2 separate regions of the Homo sapiens genome follow, and region 1 is linked to region 2. Evidence: promoter capture Hi-C in human tissues and cell types (Jung and others, 2019). All regions are on one chromosome and are shown on one strand. Each heading gives the region's core, a stretch centred on a gene start or on the middle of the fragment in contact. The rest is flanking DNA. Distances are from core to core; before and after follow the strand shown. Region 1 holds the start of DNASE1L2 (deoxyribonuclease 1 like 2). Region 2 holds the start of NTN3 (netrin 3).

Evidence for each region. Contacts are between HindIII fragments. The study calls those that stand out against the background at their distance.
Region 1: the fragment with the promoter of DNASE1L2 here is called in contact with the fragment with the promoter of NTN3 in region 2 in 1 of the 25 tissues and cell types used here (lymphoblastoid cells).

What each region holds. Positions count from the first base shown.
Region 1 is chr16:2,234,234-2,239,136 of GRCh38, forward strand. It overlaps DNASE1L2 (deoxyribonuclease 1 like 2), which reads left to right and starts at 2,211. Exons shown (of 7, transcript NM_001374.3): 1 at 2,211-2,327; 2 at 2,545-2,727; 3 at 2,805-2,893; 4 at 2,985-3,068; 5 at 3,143-3,416; 6 at 3,534-3,785; 7 at 4,129-4,478. The coding sequence starts at 2,584. The coding sequence ends at 4,185. It overlaps E4F1 (E4F transcription factor 1), which reads left to right. Exons shown (of 14, transcript NM_004424.5): 10 at 1-155; 11 at 350-548; 12 at 626-768; 13 at 848-910; 14 at 983-1,509. The coding sequence ends at 1,339. The HindIII fragment of the contact is 25,906 bases long and covers 1-4,903 here.
Region 2 is chr16:2,469,475-2,474,388 of GRCh38, forward strand. NTN3 (netrin 3) reads left to right here and starts at 1,823. Exons shown (of 6, transcript NM_006181.3): 1 at 1,823-3,155; 2 at 3,227-3,415; 3 at 3,511-3,660; 4 at 3,794-3,844; 5 at 3,955-4,029; 6 at 4,282-4,671. The coding sequence starts at 2,228. The coding sequence ends at 4,631. RefSeq lists an enhancer at 1-27 and silencers at 1,961-2,100, 4,255-4,404, 4,475-4,534, 4,595-4,864. The HindIII fragment of the contact is 12,116 bases long and covers 1-4,914 here.

The DNA of each region.
Region 1 (4,903 bases), core at 961-3,460, 230 kb before region 2:
AGCACCAGGAGGTGCACGTGCGTGAGCGCCGCTTCCGCTGTGGCGACTGCGGGAAGCTCTACAAGACCATTGCCCATGTGCGTGGCCACCGGCGCGTCCACTCAGACGAGCGGCCCTACCCTTGTCCCAAGTGTGGCAAGCGCTACAAGACTAAGGTGGGTCTCTGGCCGCAGGACCCTGGCGCCTGATCCCCCCATCCTGCTCCCTGGCCGTGGCCCAGGTGCACCCCCTTCCCTGCCTCCACCATGCTCAGTCTTGACCCAGCCCCTCCCTTGGGCCACAGGCGGGAGGGGAGAGCTGTAGTCTGTTGTGGCCAAGGCCAGGCTGGCACTGACAGGTGTCTCCACAGAACGCACAGCAGGTGCACTTCAGGACACACCTGGAGGAGAAGCCGCACGTGTGCCAGTTCTGCAGCCGTGGCTTCCGAGAGAAGGGCTCACTGGTGCGGCACGTGCGACACCACACAGGCGAGAAGCCGTTCAAGTGCTACAAGTGCGGCCGTGGCTTCGCCGAGCACGGCACGCTGAACCGGCACCTGCGCACCAAAGGTCTGGGCCGGTGGAGGTGGGAGGGGGAGGGGAGGGGGCCGGGGCTTGCCTAGCCCTGACCGAGTCCCCACCCACAGGGGGCTGCCTGCTGGAGGTGGAGGAGTTGCTGGTGTCTGAGGACAGCCCCGCGGCAGCCACCACCGTCCTCACGGAAGACCCGCACACAGTGTTGGTGGAGTTCTCGTCCGTGGTAGCTGACACCCAGGAGTATATCATCGAGGTGGGTGTGGGGCCCTGGGGCCGTGCTGGGACCCAGGGGCAGCCAAGGCTGACCTCTGTCCTTCTGCCCATCTGCCCAGGCCACTGCGGACGATGCGGAGACCAGTGAGGCCACGGAGATCATCGAGGGCACCCAGACAGAGGTGAGGGGTAGGGCAGGCGGGGGCGGGGAGGCTCCCTGGCACAGCCGCTCTTGCTGAGCCGTGGCCCTGCAGGTGGACAGCCACATCATGAAGGTGGTGCAGCAGATCGTGCACCAGGCTAGCGCCGGCCACCAGATCATCGTGCAGAACGTCACCATGGACGAGGAGACGGCGCTGGGCCCAGAGGCGGCTGCCGCCGACACCATCACCATCGCCACCCCCGAGAGCCTGACAGAGCAGGTGGCCATGACGCTGGCCTCGGCCATCAGCGAGGGCACTGTGCTTGCCGCCCGGGCAGGGACAAGTGGCACTGAACAGGCCACTGTGACCATGGTGTCATCAGAGGACATCGAGATCCTGGAGCATGCAGGCGAGCTGGTCATCGCCTCGCCGGAGGGCCAGCTGGAGGTGCAGACGGTCATCGTCTAGCATGAGGTCTGCGGGGTCCTGGCCGGGCAGGGACAGGGCAGAGGACTCTGAGCGCCCCACCCATGCCTGCCTGGCCTGGTAGAGAAGATGGCACAGGATGGAGGCGCCCCAAGACGGACAGTGTACATAAGAGTTTCTTGTTGCTTTACAATAAAACATGAGAACCTGCAGCTTGTGATGTTGTGGCAGTGGCAGCCTCCGCGGCTGGTGCCACCACCTTTGCCCAGGCCCCCGCAGCAGCACCTGCCTCCCAGGCCACTCCTAGACTCACGTGCCTGGCCGCCCCACCCAGGGGCTTCTGCCAGCCCTGGCGGCGCCTTGGTGCTGTGTGGGTGTCATTGGCATGTTGACCAACAGCCTCCTGCCCTGCCCAGCTGGAGCTGTGCCCCCAGCTGCGCTGCCTGAGGCCTGTGGGTGGGTGGGAGGACCAGGGACGGGGACAGGGAGATCTGGGAGCCTCGGCCTCCACCGCAGGGTGAGCAGGTGGAGCAGCAGCAGGAGATGCTGGGTAGGGAGTGTGGCTGGTCCTACCTGCGCTGCCTTGCTTTCCCTGAAGGGATTCTGCTCAGGGAGGCAGAGTCTAGGCGACCTAATTTCTAGGGGCGAGGACAAGAACACAGCCGCACCGGGATGTGGCTGACCGTCTACCTCCCTCCTAGGGGGCTGGCAGGGGCTTCTGGGACGGTTTTGGGACAGGTCTGGGGCACCAGAACCGGCTCAGGCAGGTCTCCCACCCCTTACCCTGGGGGTCTCCATGGGAATGAAAGCCAGGAGTTCATCAGGCACCCAGCTGAGTCGAGGGGGCGGGACCCAGTGCAGCCCGGCCCCTCCCTGGCCCAGGACCTCAAATACCGGCCCCTGCCTTGGTGCCAGAGCTACTGCCAGAGGGAGTCAGTGCAGTCCTGTGTCGGACACGCCCGCAGCCTGGACCCGGGATCCCCATCCCCCTAGGATCTCTGAGCCTCGGGCCTCTGCACCCACATCCAAGGTGAGTCTCTCGGCTGCCCTGAGCTGGGGCTGGATGGGCCGGACCCTCCATTCCGGCTGCAGCTTCCCGCGCAGTGAGAAGGCAGCGGTCCCTGAGAGCCCAGCAGTGCCCTGGGAGCCTGCAGAACGCAGGGGCGGATTCCGCGTCGCACTGGCCGTCAAGGGGCGGCCGCGGAGGGAAGGGGTGGGTCGGTGGGTCTGACAGCGGGTCTGCGTAGGCGGCAGCGTCTGTCCCTCCCAGCCTCTCGCTCCGCGCCATGGGCGGGCCCCGGGCTCTGCTGGCCGCACTCTGGGCGCTGGAAGCCGCCGGGACCGCCGCGCTTCGCATCGGAGCCTTCAACATTCAGAGCTTCGGTGACAGCAAAGTGTCGGACCCCGCTTGCGGCAGCATCATCGCGAAGGTGGGGCCCGGGCCGGGGCGGGGCGGCGTTTAGGGGTGCTGACCGCGCTGACCCCCGCACCCGCCGCTCCTCCCCAGATCCTGGCTGGCTATGACCTCGCGCTGGTGCAGGAGGTGCGAGACCCAGACCTCAGCGCCGTGTCCGCGCTCATGGAGCAGATCAACAGGTGTGGTGGGCAGGGCCCCTCGTCGCGACCCCCCGCCGGGATCTCGCCCCGGCGCGGCGCCCCGACCCTGAGCGGGCCCCTGTCTCCGCAGCGTGTCCGAGCACGAGTACAGCTTTGTGAGCAGCCAGCCCCTGGGCCGGGACCAGTACAAGGAGATGTACCTGTTCGTGTACAGGTGAGGGGCGGGCCGCAGGGAGGGGCGCGCGGGGCCGCAGGTCGGGGGCTCAGCGGGTCCTCCCCATCTCCTAGGAAAGACGCGGTGTCGGTCGTGGACACCTACCTGTACCCAGACCCCGAGGACGTCTTCAGCCGCGAGCCCTTCGTGGTCAAGTTCTCGGCCCCCGGCACCGGTGAGCGGGCCCCGCCCCTCCCCTCCCGCCGAGCTCTGACGCCCCCACCCCTTCCCGCAGCAGCACAGAACCTGGTGCTGATCCCGCTGCACGCGGCGCCGCATCAAGCCGTGGCGGAGATCGACGCGCTCTACGACGTGTACCTGGACGTGATCGACAAGTGGGGCACCGACGTAAGCCCACCCCTCGGTCCCGGGGTCCCTGCAGGCGCGCCCCGGGGGTCTGGTTCATGAGGGCGGGACCTCGACGGCTCCTGCGGCGGCTCAGACACGGCTCCGCGGCGCCCGCAGGACATGCTGTTCCTGGGCGACTTCAACGCCGACTGCAGCTATGTGCGGGCGCAGGACTGGGCCGCCATCCGTCTGAGGAGCAGTGAGGTCTTCAAGTGGCTCATCCCTGACAGCGCCGACACCACGGTGGGCAACTCAGACTGCGCCTACGACCGCATTGTGGCCTGTGGCGCCCGCCTGCGCCGGAGCCTGAAGCCCCAGTCGGCCACCGTGCACGACTTCCAGGAGGAATTCGGCCTGGACCAGACTCAGGCGAGTGGGCCGTGGGGCGGTGCTGGTCTTGGGTCCCCACCGCCCGGGCGCACGCAGGCAGCAGGGAGGGTCCAGCGCCCAAGGCAGGGCCACCTCAGCTTCCTCCCTGCACCAGGGCTCGTTTCCAAGGACCCTGGAGAGCCCGGCCCACCCCATGTGGAGCTCTGGGCAGGCAGGGTACCTTGCCTTTCCCTCAAAGGGCCAGTGGTGACACCCTCTGCCCCGGCCCCTGCCCCTGCCCCACCGCAGGCAGCAGCAGGGGTGGGCACCCAGGCCTCACCGGCCCCTCCCATCCCTGTGGGTGGGGTGCACTTTTCCCCTGAGGCTCACTCTGTCCCCACAGGCTCTTGCCATCAGCGACCACTTTCCAGTGGAGGTGACCCTCAAGTTCCACCGATGACTCGAGGCCTGGCTGGGGCATGCCACCTGCAGACCCTGGCTCTGAGGAATGGCCCAACAGTGGCCCCTTCAGGGTGGCAGCCACCCTTCAGTGAGGCCCCAAGGCAGAGTCGGCTGGGCGTGGACCAGGGGCCATGGACACGTGATGTGCTGCTCTGTACCTCCGTTCCCCATCTGTGGGACGGGCTGCATCCAGCGACCTCATGGGGTGTTGTGAGCCCCATGAGGGGTGCAGGGGGCACTGCCCGGCAGATGTCTGCTCAATAAATGAGCTGCTCCCGGTCGGGCCCCACAGCTTGGCTCCCAGGCCTCTGTCCTTCCTTAGGACCCAGCCTCAGCTCCTTAGGGGCAGCCATGGCCTGGGCTGCCCACCCCATGTCCTGGTGGGACGTGGCTGCCCCCGGAGCCTGCTGGCCCCAGAAGGCAGCTCAGGGATGCTCCTTGCTCATCCTCTGTGGAAACTACAAACACTCCCAGGAGCCTGTACTGTGAGCACAGCTGGGACAGGGATGGCGCCAACACACCAGCCTCCTGGGCCCTCGGGGCTCTCAGAACAGCTCTCCCCAGGCCCACCCCGCAGCCCCCATTCCAGGGCCCTGCAGGGGCCCCCAGGCACTTGTCTGTCTCAAGAGCCCGGTCTTACCCAGCACTGCAAGGGGAGGCCAGCCCCAGCTAGTCAGCAGCCCTGGAGCTTTTGGAGAGCCTGAGAGCAGTGGGCG
Region 2 (4,914 bases), core at 573-3,072:
GTCCCAGAATGATGATCTCAGCCCCCATAGTCCCCCCAGGGTTCCTCCCACCCTTAGGGTGGGGTGTCGGGGGGTGGGGGTTGGGAGCCAGAAGGACCTTGAAGAGGGTGGTTGGGACGTTTCAGGTTCTAAGCTTGACCCACAGAGCGGAGCGTGAGCCCCGTCAGGTTGAGGTCCCTCAACTTGTAAAGGACACAATTCCCATTCTCTTTATCAGGAAGCTGAGGGGCAGGGGCCCTGTGGCAGAGAGAGAGCCCCTTAGCCCTCTCTGTTCAGTCCTCCGGTGCCCCCATCCCTGTGCATCTGTGGCTGTCACATGCAGATGTGTGGCAAGGAGAAGGTGCCCACCAGCCAGTGTCAGTTGCTCCAGGAGCCAAGCCAGGTGCCCTATCACCCTGTCTTCCCGTTCCTCCCCTCCATGGTCAGGCCCTCCTGCTCCCTCCTCTGGTCCTTCAGTTTCCCCTAGGAGGCTTCCGTGTCCTCCTGCCCCTCCTCTCCCCAACAGCGGGATGCGTCTACCTCTCCATTCTCTTCCTCCTGGTCCTTGCTCATCTCTGGTCGTGTCCAGGGTAGCACCCACGTGGCCTCCTCCACCAGCTGCAGGCCTGGCCTCCCATCTGAAACGGGGCATTCAGGCCTCGATGCTGGCCCTGCACGGAACTTGTTCCCTGCCCCTCCCTGGGATGCTTGGCCTCCTCTGTCAAGGACCTGAAAGTCGGAGGGGAGGAGGTTTCTCTGACCAGAGCTGTTCCTGGACCCTCTTTGGTGGTGTCGCTCCCAGGCACAGCTACCCCATCCCCAGCTAGTCCCCAGGCCACCCAGCTGGGCTTCTGCCTCAGTTTCCCTGCCCAAACGTGCTGTGACGTAGGGCAGTGGGCTCCGGGTTGCGACCAGCCCCTTCCCATGATTAAACCCTACTCCCTGCCCCTGCAGAGGGGTCCTCAACAGCTAACCAAGCCCCCGAACCCCAAGAAGCCACCCCATCCCACCCTCCAGCTTCCATGTCCTCCCTGCCAGCTGGGCCCGTGGCAGAGGTGCCCCTAGAAACTTGCAGACCCAGGGAGCTTTGGGATCAGAATCTGGCCTGGTGCAGGGGATGCTGGCCTCATGTCTTAGCCCAGCTCAGGCCCATGGGGGTGCCCCCCTTCCTCAACATGGGCAGGAGACACTCCAATTTGTGCAGCTCTCGACTTGGGCCTGATGCCACTTGAGACTCATCAAATCCAACAGCTTCAGAGCGCGTGCTGAGTAACAGGCATCTGGCAGGTGAGGAAACAGGAGCCCAAGACATGCAGCCAGAAATGGGGCAGTTGGATTCAAAATTAGACCTGACCGAATCCTGGGTTCCTTCTACTCGAGTAGATGCTGCTTTGGGGATGACCCTTCAACTGGTGGTTACTTGGCTTCCCTACCTGGGGAACATCCAGGGCCTCTGCTGTCAGACCCGGGGCCTTGCCTGCCTGATGGTCTTCAGGGAGGAGGCGACCCAGACCCCCGTCCAGCACGTGGCACAGCCCCAGGAGCAGTAAAGACCTGGCTGTGGGCCCAGGACCCTGCTGGGTGGTCCCCCACGGGCTGCGAAGGCTGAGCTGCCCCCCTCCAGACCCCTCCCGCCAGCGCATTCCTGGCTCCCCGGCCCCTCCCCTGGCTCCCGGGCCTCCCAGCCCCCTTCCCCGCTGGCCCAGCCCGCGTCTGAATCTGCTTCTGATTCCAGCTCTGCGATGAGGCCCCCTCCCCTCCCCTGCCTCCTTCCCGACCCGAGCAGCCCCGCCCCCGGCTGGGCCCGGGCTTGCGCCTGCTGCGCCCCCCACCCCCTCCTGGCACAGCTCGTCCGCCCTCGCTGCAGCCGGGAGGAGGCGGCGGCCCGTGCACCGCAGGCCCCGCCCGCCCACGGCCCTTCCCGGGAGGCCGGGAGACCTGCTCCGCCCGGCCCTCGGTGGGTGAGTGCGAGCGGCGGGTGGGGCCTCCGCGGGCGGAGGCACCGGGAGCGGGGGCGACGCCTGTCATCGCTCTAGGCCCAGCGGGAGGACGCGCCAACATCCCCGCTGCTGTGCTGGGCCCGGGGCGTGCCCGCCGCTGCTCCCACCTCTGGGCCGGGCTGGGGCCGCCCGGGGGCCCTGTTCCTCGGCATTGCGGGCCTGGTGGGCAGAGCCGCGGAGAGGGCTTCTTTTCCCCAAGGGCAGCGTCTTGGGGCCCGGCCACTGGCTGACCCGCAGCGGCTCCGGCCATGCCTGGCTGGCCCTGGGGGCTGCTGCTGACGGCAGGCACGCTCTTCGCCGCCCTGAGTCCTGGGCCGCCGGCGCCCGCCGACCCCTGCCACGATGAGGGGGGTGCGCCCCGCGGCTGCGTGCCAGGACTGGTGAACGCCGCCCTGGGCCGCGAGGTGCTGGCTTCCAGCACGTGCGGGCGGCCGGCCACTCGGGCCTGCGACGCCTCCGACCCGCGACGGGCACACTCCCCCGCCCTCCTTACTTCCCCAGGGGGCACGGCCAGCCCTCTGTGCTGGCGCTCGGAGTCCCTGCCTCGGGCGCCCCTCAACGTGACTCTCACGGTGCCCCTGGGCAAGGCTTTTGAGCTGGTCTTCGTGAGCCTGCGCTTCTGCTCAGCTCCCCCAGCCTCCGTGGCCCTGCTCAAGTCTCAGGACCATGGCCGCAGCTGGGCCCCGCTGGGCTTCTTCTCCTCCCACTGTGACCTGGACTATGGCCGTCTGCCTGCCCCTGCCAATGGCCCAGCTGGCCCAGGGCCTGAGGCCCTGTGCTTCCCCGCACCCCTGGCCCAGCCTGATGGCAGCGGCCTTCTGGCCTTCAGCATGCAGGACAGCAGCCCCCCAGGCCTGGACCTGGACAGCAGCCCAGTGCTCCAAGACTGGGTGACCGCCACCGACGTCCGTGTAGTGCTCACAAGGCCTAGCACGGCAGGTGACCCCAGGGACATGGAGGCCGTCGTCCCTTACTCCTACGCAGCCACCGACCTCCAGGTGGGCGGGCGCTGCAAGTGCAATGGACATGCCTCACGGTGCCTGCTGGACACACAGGGCCACCTGATCTGCGACTGTCGGCATGGCACCGAGGGCCCTGACTGCGGCCGCTGCAAGCCCTTCTACTGCGACAGGCCATGGCAGCGGGCCACTGCCCGGGAATCCCACGCCTGCCTCGGTGAGGCCTTGGAGGGTGGCCTGGGGACCTTGGACACAACCAGCCTGCCCCTGACCCATCCCTCCCTGCAGCTTGCTCCTGCAACGGCCATGCCCGCCGCTGCCGCTTCAACATGGAGCTGTACCGACTGTCCGGCCGCCGCAGCGGGGGTGTCTGTCTCAACTGCCGGCACAACACCGCCGGCCGCCACTGCCACTACTGCCGGGAGGGCTTCTATCGAGACCCTGGCCGTGCCCTGAGTGACCGTCGGGCTTGCAGGGGTGAGCCACCACCGGCCACCTGCAGGCCCTCACCCTCTGACTTCCCAGATCCCCAGACAGGCTTCTGACCAGGCCCTTCCCACCTCTGTCCTCAGCCTGCGACTGTCACCCGGTTGGTGCTGCTGGCAAGACCTGCAACCAGACCACAGGCCAGTGTCCCTGCAAGGATGGCGTCACTGGCCTCACCTGCAACCGCTGCGCGCCTGGCTTCCAGCAAAGCCGCTCCCCAGTGGCGCCCTGTGTTAGTGAGTGACCCTGCCCCGCCTCAGCCACCAAGCCAAGGCCACCCCAGCTCCCTGCTGTTGTCCCGTCTATTCCCCGAGCCCTGCAGATCTCTCTGCCCCTCCATCGCAGGCCATTCTCCCTCCCTCTCTGCAGAGACCCCTATCCCTGGACCCACTGAGGACAGCAGCCCTGTGCAGCCCCAGGGTGAGTGGACACAGGACAGGGCCCCAGACTGGCATGACTTTGGGGGAGGGGGCTCTGGGAGGAGAGGGTGGGGAAAGGGAGTCTGTGCCAGCCTCCCACCTTCTACCCAGACTGTGACTCGCACTGCAAACCTGCCCGTGGCAGCTACCGCATCAGCCTAAAGAAGTTCTGCAAGAAGGACTATGGTAGGTGCCCTCAGGCCTCCCGCGGACCTTCCCACCTTCCTCCTCTCCCTACCTTCCCTCCTCCGCCAGCTTCCCCTTGGAACGCCTTGACCCTTGCTGGGCCCCAAGGCCCATCCTCATCCCTCAGGTCCTCCACGGGCAGCGACCCCGCCCCTTCAGCCCCCACTGCCCTCCTGGTGTCCTCCCCGTGCCTCCCCCTACCGCGGGCAGGCCGCCCCTTCCTGACCCCGCCCCCTCTCGCTCTCCCCGCAGCGGTGCAGGTGGCGGTGGGTGCGCGCGGCGAGGCGCGCGGCGCGTGGACACGCTTCCCGGTGGCGGTGCTCGCCGTGTTCCGGAGCGGAGAGGAGCGCGCGCGGCGCGGGAGTAGCGCGCTGTGGGTGCCCGCCGGGGATGCGGCCTGCGGCTGCCCGCGCCTGCTCCCCGGCCGCCGCTACCTCCTGCTGGGGGGCGGGCCTGGAGCCGCGGCTGGGGGCGCGGGGGGCCGGGGGCCCGGGCTCATCGCCGCCCGCGGAAGCCTCGTGCTACCCTGGAGGGACGCGTGGACGCGGCGCCTGCGGAGGCTGCAGCGACGCGAACGGCGGGGGCGCTGCAGCGCCGCCTGAGCCCGCCGGCTGGGCAGGGCGGCCGCTGCTCCCACATCTAGGCGCACGTTCACCCTGTGCCTTCGCCTGCCAAGGAGTCCTTGCTCGCGTCGCGCGTGTCGCCACCTGGGCCGCCGCCCCGTCCCCGCCGGCAGCTCCCTCGGTACCTCCCGTCTGGCCCTGGGGGGATGTGACCGGCGCAGCGACAGCCCGCCCCGCACAGAGGCAGATGATATGGCACACCCGGAGGACCCCATGGTCTCCCGCCCTCTGGCTGTCGGCCCTGTCCCAGGGGCACTGGGAT